Regions from separate parts of the Homo sapiens genome. Here all the other regions are linked to region 2. Evidence: promoter capture Hi-C in 16 types of primary human blood cells and fetal thymus (Javierre and others, 2016). All regions are on one chromosome and are shown on one strand. Each heading gives the region's core, a stretch centred on a gene start or on the middle of the fragment in contact. The rest is flanking DNA. Distances are from core to core; before and after follow the strand shown.

Evidence for each region. Contacts are between HindIII fragments. The CHiCAGO score rates a contact against its expected background, and 5 or more counts as called.
Region 1: a fragment that was not itself captured here is called in contact with the fragment with the promoter of RRM2 in region 2 in 11 of 17 cell types (naive CD8 T cells, total CD8 T cells, fetal thymus and 8 more); the score reaches 10.9 in naive CD8 T cells.
Region 3: a contact is called between a fragment that was not itself captured here and the fragment with the promoter of RRM2 in region 2, in 1 of 17 cell types (activated CD4 T cells). The highest score is 5.1, in activated CD4 T cells.
Region 4: a fragment that was not itself captured here is called in contact with the fragment with the promoter of RRM2 in region 2 in 16 of 17 cell types (naive CD8 T cells, endothelial precursors, total CD8 T cells and 13 more); the score reaches 28.7 in naive CD8 T cells.
Region 5: a contact is called between the fragment with the promoter of ATP6V1C2 here and the fragment with the promoter of RRM2 in region 2, in 2 of 17 cell types (M0 macrophages and total B cells). The highest score is 5.5, in M0 macrophages.

What each region holds. Positions count from the first base shown.
Region 1 is chr2:10,682,196-10,684,895 of GRCh38, forward strand. NOL10 (nucleolar protein 10) reads right to left here. Exons shown (of 21, transcript NM_024894.4): 2 at 2,372-2,417. Among named protein-coding and RNA genes, the nearest start is that of NOL10, 6.4 kb to the right of the region's middle. The HindIII fragment of the contact is 4,977 bases long and covers 1-2,700 here.
Region 2 is chr2:10,121,297-10,123,996 of GRCh38, forward strand. RRM2 (ribonucleotide reductase regulatory subunit M2) reads left to right here and starts at 1,443. Exons shown (of 10, transcript NM_001034.4): 1 at 1,443-1,601; 2 at 1,687-1,761; 3 at 2,091-2,234; 4 at 2,440-2,556. The coding sequence starts at 1,503. RefSeq lists enhancers at 1-116, 165-720, 478-547, 568-677 and silencers at 898-1,497, 904-1,404. The HindIII fragment of the contact is 3,317 bases long and covers 75-2,700 here.
Region 3 is chr2:10,643,318-10,646,017 of GRCh38, forward strand. It overlaps NOL10 (nucleolar protein 10), which reads right to left. Exons shown (of 21, transcript NM_024894.4): 13 at 1,003-1,055. Among named protein-coding and RNA genes, the nearest start is that of NOL10, 45 kb to the right of the region's middle. The HindIII fragment of the contact is 6,652 bases long and covers 1-2,700 here.
Region 4 is chr2:10,662,766-10,665,465 of GRCh38, forward strand. It overlaps NOL10 (nucleolar protein 10), which reads right to left. Exons shown (of 21, transcript NM_024894.4): 9 at 194-279. Among named protein-coding and RNA genes, the nearest start is that of NOL10, 26 kb to the right of the region's middle. The HindIII fragment of the contact is 3,499 bases long and covers 1-2,700 here.
Region 5 is chr2:10,720,259-10,722,958 of GRCh38, forward strand. ATP6V1C2 (ATPase H+ transporting V1 subunit C2) reads left to right here and starts at 1,372. Exons shown (of 14, transcript NM_001039362.2): 1 at 1,372-1,473; 2 at 2,566-2,700. The coding sequence starts at 2,592. The HindIII fragment of the contact is 5,016 bases long and covers 856-2,700 here.

The DNA of each region.
Region 1 (2,700 bases), core at 171-2,670, 560 kb after region 2:
GCCTTGGGAAAGGTCACCAGCACAGCCCAACCATTAAACAGCAGAGGTTTTTTCCTTAGCTCATACGTTGTTTTTCTAAGCTAAGTATTTCATTTTTACTTTTCAAGAATAAAAAAAGTAGCATCATTAATTGAAAAAAAATTTTCCACAACAGTGTATCAAACATCCAGTGTTACAGGAGGAAGAGCATAAACATTAAACCACTTTTTTTTTTTTTTTTTTGAGACAGGGTCTCACTCTGTCACCCAGACTGGAGTGCAGTGGCACAATCATGGCTCACTGCAGCCTCAACCTCCCGGGCTGAAGCGATCCTCACACCTCAGCCCCCCCAAATAGCTAGGACTACAGGCGCATGCCACTGCACCCAGGTATTTTTGTATTTTTTGTAGAGATGGGGTTTCGCCACGTTGCCCAGGCTGGTCTCAAACTTCTAGGGCCAAGCAATCCTCACACTTCAGCCTCCCAAACTTCTGGGATTGCAGGAGTGAGCCACCGCACTGGGCCCCTAAACCACTATTACTACTCAATCATGGCAAAGACAAAAATCCAACTTTTTTTTCTCCTAAGTAACAGGTTTAAGCCCCCAAACTCTCCAAACTCTTTTTTTTTGAGACAAGTCTCACCTGTTGTCCAAGCTGGAGTGCAGTGGCACAATCCTGGCTCACAGCAACCTCCACCTCCCAGGTTCAAGCAATTCTCCTGCCTCAGCTTCCCAAGTAGCTGGGGCTACAGGCACGCACCACCATGCCTGGCTAATTTTTGTATTTTTAGTAGAGACGGGGTTTCACTACGTTGGCCAGGCTGGTCTTGAACTCCTGACCTCATGATCTGCCCGCCTGGGCCTTCCAAAGTGCTGGGATTACAGGCATAAGCCACTGTGCCTGACCCAACCTCTTAAGTTTATATAAGAAACTGCTACGAAGCTGACTTATACCTCTTTTGGAACCAATTATCTGCAGACAAGAGGAAACCCCTTTGATACCTTAGGTTTTTAAAGAGTAAGTTAAACAAAATATATGGGAAAATAAATTTTCTTTCATATGTGACAAGCTATAATGAAGAAAATATAATGAAAACTTGTGCACCAAAATTATTTAAGTTAGAAATTTTTCTTACAATTTCTTGCTGCCGTAAATTTAAAAGAACCAACATCTTCTGCAATCACCTTTAACTGTTCAGATTCATAAACCCTACATGTAAAATTCCTTTCTTCAAGAAATGCTCATTGTCTCTGTATCTCAAACACTGATAAATGGATTTAATTTACACGATAAGATTTTGATACACAAGAGAGCAAAGCAATTAGGGACCTGTTAGGAGAGACAGTCCTCCTTGGACCTGCATGCTTACTGGGTATGGCGAGATTGCAAGACCCCAGCCACTCTTACCTGAGCCATTTCTCAGGGTTGTTTACACTGCTGAGAACCTTGATAGACAGGTAACCTGTCCCTTCTGGACAAAACACAGGTTTGCTTACTGCTTGCCAGAAAAGCAGTGGACTTCCCAAGCTGTGTTGCTCGGCCACAACGCAAATCCACTGTGTGCCAAGCATCCACCTGGACTGTGCTAAGTGTCCCCAGGAGACCCAAGAGGGGAACTGGCACAAATATGCTGATGTTCATGCTATCTACTGTGCTGTGAGTAATAACATCTGCATTTCTAGCCCAGGAGTCTTGCGTCTACTATTGTTATCCATGAAACGGTAACAGGCTAACTTATTAGTTAATAAGGTAAAATCAAATCCCATACCCACCAGGAACATACCAACCACAACAAAAAGTTTCTTAAGAAGGAGAAAGGCGGCCGGACGCGGTGGCTCACACCTGTAATCCCAGCACTTTGGGAGGCCAAGGCAGGTGGATCACCTGAGGTCGCAAGTTCGAGACCAGCCTGACCAACATGGAGAAACCCCATCTCTACTAAAAATACAAAAAAAATTAGCCGGGCGTGGTGGCTTGTAATCCCAGCTACTCAGGAGGCTGAGGCAGGAGAACTGCTTGAATCCAGGAGGTGGAGGTTGCAGTGAGCCGAGGTCACACCATTGCACTCCAGCCTGGGCAATAAGAGTGAAACTCCATCTCAAAAAAAAAAAAAAAGGAGAAGAGCTGCGTACAGTGGCTCATGCCTGTAATCCCAAAACTTTGGGAGGCCAAGGTGGGAGGTCTGCTCAAGCCCAGGAGTTAGAGACCAGTCTGGGCAACACAGTGAGACCCCATGTCAAAGGAAAAAAAAGAAAAGGGACAAGAGCATTCATTTTCCACTACATGTTACCGCATTCTTATAAATCCTCACTTATATATAACAGCAAATGAGTAAAAGCATTAGAACATGGATCACTAACGCAGCTGAAGTGGGAAAAAACAATACTCACCTACATCTTTCTTCTGTAGCGCTCTCTTCTTCCTATCAGAAAGCCACTTAAAGAAAATGAAGAGAGTTTATTTTAAAACAAATTTAGCTAAATTGTTTTTCGGCTTGCAAAATCAATACATGCTTATATTTAAAAATTCAAACTTCATAGGAATATATAACATAGGAAGCAAAAAATATTCTCTAATCCTAACTCTACTCGTAACGTATTAAATATCTCCTGGATTTTTTTTCTTGTGTATACTTACATACATTAGATAATTTCTTTTATTTTTACTTTTTTAGAGACAGGGTCTCATGCTTGCCCAGTCTATAGTACAATGATGCGAT
Region 2 (2,700 bases), core at 193-2,692:
CTTATCTAGAAAAGGCTTTGTGAAAAAAAAAGTCCCGGGTCTCTCTCAATAACAGCCCTGAGCGCAGCTGTTGAAGCTTTCTCAGGTTAATGATTTCTTTCTTGGATCTTAAAGTTTCTTTCTCTTCCTTTATTTTTGGCATTTTGCCCGTTGCAGGGCCTGGCAAATCAGAAAGCCACATAGAAAATTAAATGAAAGCTATTGCTAAGTTCCAGTCTCTACACCAGTGGAGTTTTCAAACTCCTCTTCAGCATATTTGACGCCCAATGAGTAGTACATTAATTCCTAGTCCTAAAATCATTCTGTGAACTTTCTCCCAGGAATTTTTGCTCAGTTTGCAATTAAAACAACTTTTTTTCTTCTCTTTTTAATGGCAGAGGCGGGGTCTCACTATGTTGCCCAGGATGGTCTCCAGCTCCTGGCCTCAAACAATCCTCCTGCCTTGGCCTCCCAAAGTGCTGGGATTACAGGCGTGAGCCACCGCGCCCAGCCACAGTTTGCAATTCTTAAGGCAAGGGTGACAATAGGGGTCAGGGGTCTGACAGGAGACAGGATTTCTGTGGAAAACTGCACCAAGGGCCTTCTCGCCATGTCCCGTAGTTTGAAGGTTTACAAAGGACTGCACATTTTACATGAGTCATCTCAACGAACGCTCTCCTCACCGCATTAACAGTCCACGCGGTTACGAGTCCCATTTTACTCACGGGGACACCGAATCTGTAAGAAGCCTGGTCGCTTGTCCCAGCAAAACGAGCCACGGGGCTCAGCGGCCCTAACTTTTAGGCTGTAGGGTCCTCGCCGACCACCCCGCCAAAATGTCAGGCCTCGGGGCCCTTGCACCCCCACCGCAGGGACACGGATCGAAAGGGTCGCAGCAACGCCTCCCCCGCACCCAGGAGCGTTTTCCAGGCCTTTGCACCAACCTCGTTGGCTAAGCCCCCTGCCCGGCGGCGGCCCGGCTGGGAGGAGGTGCTTTCGGGAGGCGGGGCCGCGGCCCGGGGATCCTCTCGCGCCCGCGGGCTCCAATCGCTGCTCCTCACGCAATCCTAAACGGTTCCCGGGCGAACCGGGGCCCGCGCGCGCCAAGGCCGCCGAGACCCTCAGGGGCTGCGGCCCTGGTCCCGCGGGACCTGTGGGGGCCTGGGCGGCGGCGCCCCCGACCCAGCCAGCGGACGGGCCGGGGGGGGAACCGGGAGGTCCCGGGGGGCGTCCACGGGGGTGTCCCCGGGGGTCTCCGGAAGGCGCCGGCGGAGGCTCCCGCGCTGCGCTTGAAAATCGCGCGCGGCCCCGCGGCCAGCCTGGGTAGGGGCAAGGCGCAGCCAATGGGAAGGGTCGGAGGCATGGCACAGCCAATGGGAAGGGCCGGGGCACCAAAGCCAATGGGAAGGGCCGGGAGCGCGCGGCGCGGGAGATTTAAAGGCTGCTGGAGTGAGGGGTCGCCCGTGCACCCTGTCCCAGCCGTCCTGTCCTGGCTGCTCGCTCTGCTTCGCTGCGCCTCCACTATGCTCTCCCTCCGTGTCCCGCTCGCGCCCATCACGGACCCGCAGCAGCTGCAGCTCTCGCCGCTGAAGGGGCTCAGCTTGGTCGACAAGGAGAACACGGTGAGCCCGCGGGGAGGGCGCTGCGGGCAGGGGAGGGAGGCAGGGAAAGCGAAGCCGCTCCTCACTCACACGCGTCTCCCCGCAGCCGCCGGCCCTGAGCGGGACCCGCGTCCTGGCCAGCAAGACCGCGAGGAGGATCTTCCAGGAGCCCACGGAGCCGGTGAGTGGCGGGCGTGGGGCAGAGGGGCCAGGGACGGCCTTGGGCGTCTTGGCGCCAAAGCCGCATTGTTTCCTCAGCTGTTCACACTCCCGCCCCGGCTCCTTTCCCGCCTAGGCGGCCCCTCCCCAGGGCTGCCTCCCGCGCCCCTCGGCCCATTTCCCGGTTCGGGCGTGCGCTCCTCTGCTGCGACCCACGGAGTGCGACGGGACAGCCACGTTTTCACATCGGGCCCCGTGAAATTGCCGCCAATGGAAAGGACTTGGTCCAGAAAAACGTTAGTTTCATATGGTTCGCCCGGTACTTAAATGTTTTATTTTCTCCCCCAACAGAAAACTAAAGCAGCTGCCCCCGGCGTGGAGGATGAGCCGCTGCTGAGAGAAAACCCCCGCCGCTTTGTCATCTTCCCCATCGAGTACCATGATATCTGGCAGATGTATAAGAAGGCAGAGGCTTCCTTTTGGACCGCCGAGGAGGTAATCGGAGGACCCCAGAAGACCCCTGCAGGGGTGACCGTCACGCCTCAGACATAAATGCACTTGGAGGTTCCCGTTGGCAAGGGGGGCTAACTGTGGGGCATAGTAAGTGGTGCCAGCATACTTAAAGTTTGAGTGCTCAGTGTGAGTCCTGTAGGCTTTACTCTCTTCCTTTTATGCTAAAATTGTGACTTCCGAACCTCAGGTGGACCTCTCCAAGGACATTCAGCACTGGGAATCCCTGAAACCCGAGGAGAGATATTTTATATCCCATGTTCTGGCTTTCTTTGCAGCAAGCGATGGCATAGTAAATGAAAACTTGGTGAGTTTCCAAAACATCTTTCATTCATTTGACGTTGACGATCTGAGGTCGAACTAGTTCGCTTTCCTCGTCTTGTATGTTTTTCCATGCTGAGTGCATCTGTGTGTGTAAGCTGGGTTTTATATTACATGGCATTTCCTGTTT
Region 3 (2,700 bases), core at 113-2,612, 520 kb after region 2:
TACCTGCAAGATGATAGTGGTTACAGAGAGTTCACCTCCCTCAGATTCTGATCTTCAGTACCCCTCACTCTACTCTCTTCTCAAATCTCAGGTAAGGGAGATGTCTGCTGAGTATAAAGTAATCTAATGCCAACTTTATACTATGTGTTTTTCTGCTTATGAAATCGTATTTCCTTGCTTCATTTTTTACTATAAACTTAAAGGGAAGGGTGGGAGCTTCTGGCTATTTAAGAGAAGAATTATTTAAGGAGGGAAAAAAAGGTTTTTTTGGCAAACTACATGTCATCCCTGATCAGGATGATCTATGATAATTTATATATGTAACTTATTTTTAAAAGAAACAAACTATAGTGAGATGACTTGAAGAGTAATAGACTTTTCAGAATTAGACCTCCGGATCACTAACAGCTGAAAGTTTAAGATTCTGAAATACTTGGAAACAAAAAATAAATGTAAATCAGAAGAATAAATACTAATTTATAATGTCTGTTTTAACATGATATTAAACAGTTCCCATAAAAGAATGTTTGAGCATGAATTGACTGGCTCCAGAAAGCAAATTCAACCCAAAAGTGAGTCCACTGTGTCTAATGTACACAGCCACATGTAGACCCAGGTTCCTCAATACATCCAATTTAAAAAGTATCTTTGGCCGGGAGTGGTGGCTCACACCTGTAATCCCAGCACTTTGGGAGGCCCAGGCAGGAGGATCACTTGAGGTCATGAGTTCAAGACCACCCCAGCCAACATGGCAAAACCCCGTCTCTACCAAAAATACAAAAATTAGCCAGGTGTGGTAGCGTACACCTGTAATCCCAGCTACAGGAGGTTGAGGTAGGAGAATCACTTGAACCCAGGAGGCAGAGGTTGCAGTGGGCTGAGGCTGCACCACTGCACCCCAGCATCGGTGATCGCCAGACTCCGTCTCAAAAAATTAAATAAATAATAAAAAGTATCTTTGCTTGTCCTATTTTTACTGAAACTCCTCTTTGTATTACTTACTGGAATGTAATAGATGCCCATCTTGGGGGTTTCATTGGCCGTCAGAAGCATGCCTAAAAATAAATACAATGAAAAAGGTCAATGCATAGGAAAAAGAAAGTACCCTTTTCTATTTGCTTTCCATTCTGAAATGCCTGAGGAACTTCTGTTAGTCAGTGAACCAAAGTATAGTATTTCCCACAAAATGTCACAGCAAATTCCTAACTTTTACAAAACAAATTCGAATTTTCCAGAACAAATTTGCTTTGCTTTTGCAAAGCAAATTCCTAACTTTTACAAAACTGACTGCAAAACAAAATGTCTACATTTTGTTATCATCTACACCAGAAAGTCCTAGAGGGACTCTAACAGCCCTGACTACAGCACAGTCACTCCCTCACAGGGAATTATAACAGACTGAACCAACAGGGTGGTTAATAATTGAGTCTCCTTGGGATCAGCATATAAGAAAGCAAAACTGAAGAAAGAGATAACTTTCCGGCATTCAATAAAGGATTCTCTATAACCCCAGGAGCAACCTATAAGTACATTATTATTTGGTACTAAACTACTTAGTATCAAAGTATTCAAATATCTCGGTTTTGTTCCCTTTTCTCTGCCATTTTTGCAACATACTCCTTCCCCACAAGTGTTCTGAAGCAGCTCCAACATGGCAATATGCAAACATCAAAACTCCTCAGATCCCCTGCTCTGGACCACTGCACTTTAAATAAAACTGAAACCAGCAAGCCTTTGACCAGTCCTTCATAATCATCTAGGCACTTTCACATATACTATCTTAGTGAACATACAACAACCCTCTCAAAGAAGATGTATCATCAGCCCTATTTTACTGATCAGAAAATAAAGCTCAGAGGGACTGATGCCCCAGTCGTGAGAGAATGTTAAAGCTAAAGTCAAACTCAAGAGCGCCTGCTTTTAAATAAAGACTTCTACAGATCAGCTAAATAAGAATTCATTTTAAAAATCTATTTGTAAGATACAAGAGGAATCCACAGAGAGAAGACATTTAGATTATCAGATCACATAATGATAAATGAATATACCAAATGTTAAGGGCAATGATTAGATTCTGTTTTTAAAAATATTTTTTGCTGCCTTTCCTTTTATTAACACAAAAGTTTGTAAAAGTGATGATATTTGACTCTATTACAGAAATGAGATGCTGAGTGAATAGAGTCAATTACCACTCAAGCAGGAACTCAATACTATCTTTTTTTTTTTTTTTTTTGAGACAAGAGTCTTGCTCTGTTGCCCAGGCTGGAGTGCAGTGGCGTGGTCTCGGCTCACTGCAAGCTCCACCTCCTGGGTTCACGTCATTCTCCTGCCTCAGCCTCCCGAGTAGCTGGGACTACAGGCGCCCACCACGCCTGGCTAATTTTTTGTATTTTTAGTGGAGGGGGGTTTCACCATGTTAGCCAGGACAGTCTCAATCTCCTGACCTCATGATCCGCCCGCCTCGGCCTCCCAACATGCTGGGATTACAGGCATGAGCCACCGCATCTGGCCTCGATACTATCTTACCAAAACCACGTCTTGCCAATAACTCAGAAGTGTGAGCTAGCCCTGAACTGGGACCAACAGGTCACCAAAAATATATGCACACAAAACACACACACACACATACACACACACACACACACACACACCCCGTAAAAACATCTAAAAGCACCTAATGAAGTCTAAAAAAGCAAGAAT
Region 4 (2,700 bases), core at 12-2,511, 540 kb after region 2:
GTATAGTATTTTGGAAAGAAATTCTATCTGGCTTACTCACTAGTGAGCTTTTACAGGAGAGGATCTTTATGAAAAACAATCATGGAAAGTACAATTTCAGATATCCTGTAGCAATTTATTTGAATTTAATATAGACACATTACTTAAATTAAAAGTTGATGAACATTTACATTGCAAATTAATTTCTACTTACTCTGAATCTGCTGTGACACTGTTTAAGGCGCAGTCTAACAGGCCAACTCTGTTTCGAGTTCTTGGGTCCCAGCACTCCACTCTACCCTATGCAAATGAAAAACAATTTTAAATAAAAGCTGTAGAAGGCGGGGCATGGTGGCTCATGCCTGTAATCCCAGCACTTTGGGAGGCCGAGGCGGGCTGATCACCTGAAGCCAGGAGTTTGAGACTAGTCTGACTAACATGGCGAAACTCTGTTTCTACTAAAAATACAAAAAATTAGCTGGGTATGTGGTGCACGCCTGTAATCCCAGCTACTTGGGAGGCTAAGGCAGAAGAACTGCTTGAACCCGGGAGGTGGAGGTTGCAGTGAGCCGAGATTATGCCACTGCACACCAGTCTGAGCGACAGAGCAAGACTTCGTCTCAAAAAAAAAAAAAAAGCTGCTAAGAAATCCTTAAAACACATACAAAAATAAACCACATTAACATTGTTTATTTCATAGAAAAAGTCCTTATTTTTAAGAAATCCATTTTAAAGTATTTAGGGAAGAAATATCATAATGCCTGCAACTTATTTTCAAAAGGTTCAAAAAACATTTTTAATACATGTACATTTTTATGGGAAAAGAAAATGCAAAATATATATATCACTAAACTTTTACAAAGATGTGAACTTTTTAAAAATAAAAAGCTGGGGAAAATTTTTTTTAATGAAAAGAAGAATCCCGGCCAGGCGCGGTGGCCACGCCTGTAATCCCAGCACTTTGGGAGGCCAAGATGGGGAGATCACGAGGTCAGGAGATCGAGACCATCCTGGCTAACACAGTGAAACCCAGTCTCTACTAAAAAATACAAAAAATTAGCCGGGCATGGTGGCGGGCGCTTTTAGTCCCAGCTACTTGGGAGGCTGAGGCAGGAGAATGGCATGAACCCGGGAGGCTGGAGCTTGCAGTGAGCCGAGATCGCACCACTGCACTCCAGCCTGGGCGACAGAGCGAGACTCCGTCTCCAAAAAAAAAAAAAATACAAAATTAGCCAGGCATAGTGGCGCATGCCCGTAATCCCACACACTAGGAGGCTGAGGCAGGAGAATTGCTTGAACCCGGGAGGCAGAGGCTACAGCGAGCTGAGCGTGCCACTGCACTCCTGCCTAGGCAACAGAGAGAGACTCCGTCTAAAAAAAAAAAAAACCCAAAAAAACAGAACAGGCCGGGCATGGTGGCTTATGCCTGTAATCCCAGCACTTTTGAAGGCCGAGGTAGGTGGATCACCTGAGGTCAGGAGTTCGAGACCAGCCTGGCCAATGGTGAAACCCCGTCTCTACTAAAAATACAAAATTAGCTGGGCATGGTGGCAGGTGCTTGTAATCCCAGCTATTCGGGAGCCTGAGGCAAGAGAATCGCTTGAACCTGGGAGGCAGACATTGCGGTGAGCCGAGTCCAGCCTGGGAAACAAAGCAAGACTGTCTCAAAAAAAAACAGAATGGAGAAACTGTAGTACGTCCATTTAAACTGAGTATTAGCCATTACAAAGAATGATGTGAATATACATGTACTAGAATTGTGTCCACAAAAAAGCAATTTACTTTTTTAAATGAGGGGTCGTTGTTTGTGTGTTTGAGACAAGGTCTTGTTCAGTCGCCCAGCTGGAGTGCAGGGCACAATCACAGCGTATTGCAGCCTCCACCTTGTAGGCTCAATCCATCCTCTCACCTCAGCTTCCCCAGTAGCTGCATCTATGGTATGCACCACGCCTGTCTAATTTTTGGATTTTTGGTAGAGAAGAGGTGTCGCCATGTTGCCCAGGCTGGTCTCGAACTCCTGGACTCAAGCGTTCCACCCACTCGCACTTCCAAAGAGCTGGGATGACGGACGTGAGCCACCACACCCAGCCAACATTTGTGTTTTTAAAAAAATGCTTGTGCAAACAGAAAAACCTGAGAGGATACACAGCAAATTATTAACAGTATTTACCTAAGGAAACAGGAATAGGACAGGGTGGAAGGGAATTACACTTTTCACTTTGTGTTCTTGTCTATCATTTGATTTTGTAATGATAAAACAAAAACATAAACAAAGATGTTTTAAGATTGTTTAATATATTAACTACCTTAAAAGCAAACCCTTCAATATACTTAGGAGGTTCTGACCTCATTAATCTTTTAATATTATTACAAGTAGGTATGTTGCAAAGATGAATAATCGAAGGGAAACCTTTTTAAACTACAGCAGGTAATTCCAAATGGTCTAGTCTTCTATGTCTTCTCAAAATGAGTTAATAAATTTTATGGACATAAAAAAGAAAAGTTGCATTCCAAAAACACAAAATGGGTATGCAGATAACTTCCAGTGTAAATACAAAATGTATTTTTAAGCACACTGATTTTCTATTACCTAAATTTGAATATTTCCATTGCCAAACCTCCCCTCTTAGGCACTTCAAAAAGCACAAAATGCAAACATTTAGTTTGACAATATTATGATAACTAAGAACTAAAGAAGAAACTAAAATCTGAGATGTAATA
Region 5 (2,700 bases), core at 122-2,621, 600 kb after region 2:
TCCACCCTTGTTTGCAGATGAGATCTGCCCCCAGCTCTAAGATGTTTTCCCTGGCTGGATAAAATGTCGTGCCTGGATAACGTCCAAGATTGGAGACCACCCCGCTTTAATGTCTAACTGGGCCACTCCTTCCCTGGAATAGCCACTTAATGTCCTCAAACATACCGGAGTTTCCCCATCCCTTGGTTTCAGGTATCCTCCCTCAGGAAGATGTTGCAAGGACTGACTAATGCACATTAGTGTCCCAATAACGATGCCTGCTGCAGGTGCTGGGACTTCCAAGTCTAACCTAGGCTGGCAGTACGACCCCACTGTGATCTTAAAGCCACCTTTCTGTCCCGTCTCTGGGGCTTCCCATCCCACCCTATGTGATTACAGCTTAAGTCTCAGATGATGTCAAATCCTTCTGCCAAAGACCCTGATGCATTCACAAGAATGGGTTGATAGATAAGGCTAGTTTACACAGGAGGGGGAGTCCACGTTTAAGGAAGCAAGAACACCGTCTCCAATGCCCCCTCGAAGGACACTCTTGAGATCTTCATCTTTCCCAGAAACCACTGAAAACATCGCCCACATGGAAGGATGCTTTAAAGCCTTCTCCTTCGGTCCAGAGAAAATGAATTCTCCGAGTTTTCCTTTGGTTTTGTCTTGTTTTTAACCTTCACACGTTAATTTCCAGGGTTTCCCCCTCCTGGTTCCAGACAGCACCGATCATGAACTCATCTCTGATCGTCGTACGGTGAGTTGTAACCGCCCCCCCACCCCCCATCCACAGGGCAATTCGGAAGGTGGAGAGGGTGAGGTGGGAGTTTCCTGGGCAACCGGGCGCACACCCGCGCCCACACGGACAGGAAAAGCTTCGCTGTCTACGCAGGTGCGTCCCGAGCACCTGCGCACCTGTTGCGCGGCTCCCCACAGGTGGGCCCTGTCTCTTGCACTGGCCTGGAGACACCTGGGAGTAGGTGATTCCCCTGAGATCCGCGCATGTCTCTGTGAGGCGAGAGTGGGTGGGCAAGCGGGGCTGCGGCGGCCGCAGCGGGAGGGCGGGGTGGTCCCGAGCTCAGAGCCTTTTCCCGACTCCCACCCGGCTCAGCCGTCCACGCGTCCCGGACGCGGCAGCGCAGTCGTGCGGCAGGAGACCCCGTGGGACGCGCCGCAGAAGCCCCCAGGGCCCCGGCCCTCGCGCGTAGGGGACTGGAGACCCTGCGCGTCTCCTCCGCGCCTTCCTGCCCGGCGCCTGCACCTGCTCCCCGGCTCTCGGGCCCCTGGCTGGAGCGAGGCGGGAGGCGGACGGCCCGTATGCAAATATCCTGCGGGGCCGGGGCCGCCTCCAGAGCCCGGGATAAAAGGCGGGGCGGGGCGCGGGGCAGCGAAGCCGCTGCCTCCCGGGAGCCGGCAGAGCGCTCCGGCCCCGCACCCGCCGCCCGTCGCCCGCAGCCCCCTACCGCGCGGCCCGCGCCCCGCCGGCTCCCGGTAAGGACGCACCGCGGAGCGGGGACCCGAGGCAGGGGCGGGGTGGGGACACAGGCACGGGGTCCGGCTGCGCACCAGCCTGCGCTTTCCCATTGGAAACGTGGGCAGCGTGCACCTCCGCGCGCTTCCCCGCGGCCGGGCTGGTAGCATCTCCGCAGGTGCTGCGGCGGGCCAGTTCGTCCCCAGGCCATGGGCAGTCAAGGCGGAAAGGAGCTGCGTTGGGTCTGCGCGGGGTTAGGAGAGAACAAAATGCCCTCGGATTGGAGCGGGACCGGGAGTCCGAAAGGAAGAGGTTCCACCAGGGGTCTCTGGCTCCTCAGAGCTTATCCTGCTTTCCCCCAGCCGTCCGGAGACGCCGCGGGGAGGCAAGCGGAAAGGGGGAACCTGGCCGAGGGGGAAAGGTGCGGGTGTGGACACCTGTGAAGGAGCAGCACGAATCGAATCGGCCGTAGAGGCTGCAGACGCGGCCGCGAAACCACCGGCCACGCCGGGCAAGGGACCCAGCACTGCTGAGCGGGCACCTCGCCTAGTGGAAAAAAGACTTTAGTAGTTCCCCTCACCCCCTACTACTTTTTTTTTTCTTATTTAAAAAAATCCTCTGAAGTCTATTTTTAAAGCTAATACCAATCACAAGGTTGGCCAGTTTGACCTGCGGTTTGACCTGGTAGCCTGTTGTGAAAATCCCTTCCTCATCCCACGCCTTCCTCCACCCCATCCTGCATCCCAGAAGATGCAGTGTGGAAGGAAGACAAATATTCCCCCAGAAGGTGTCCGCCTCCAGCTTACTGTCCTCCCGTTTTATGATGCCTGATAGGGGTTGTTCACTGAGGTGGAGAGAAAGAAAGGAACCTCTCCCTCCTCCTCTGCTCCTGAAAACCAGCCAGAACCACTGCAGGGACCAAGGAGCTTTGGAGTTTCGGGAACACCTGAGGGCTGCCCAGGTGGAGATAAGAGCTTTGCTTTTGCAAATGGATGTCCTTGGAGCTCATCCTAGAAAGGATGAATTGGAGGGTAGGGAGTGGTGAGGCGGGGATATCTGACACATCTCTCCTTCTGTTTCTGTTTGTGTATGTTTGTCCTGGTTCTGGGCAGTCACTGGGTAAGAGAAGACTGGAAGCATGTCGGAGTTTTGGTTAATTTCTGCCCCTGGCGATAAGGAAAATTTGCAAGCTCTGGAGAGGATGAATACTGTAACCTCCAAGTCCAACCTGTCTTATAATACCAAAT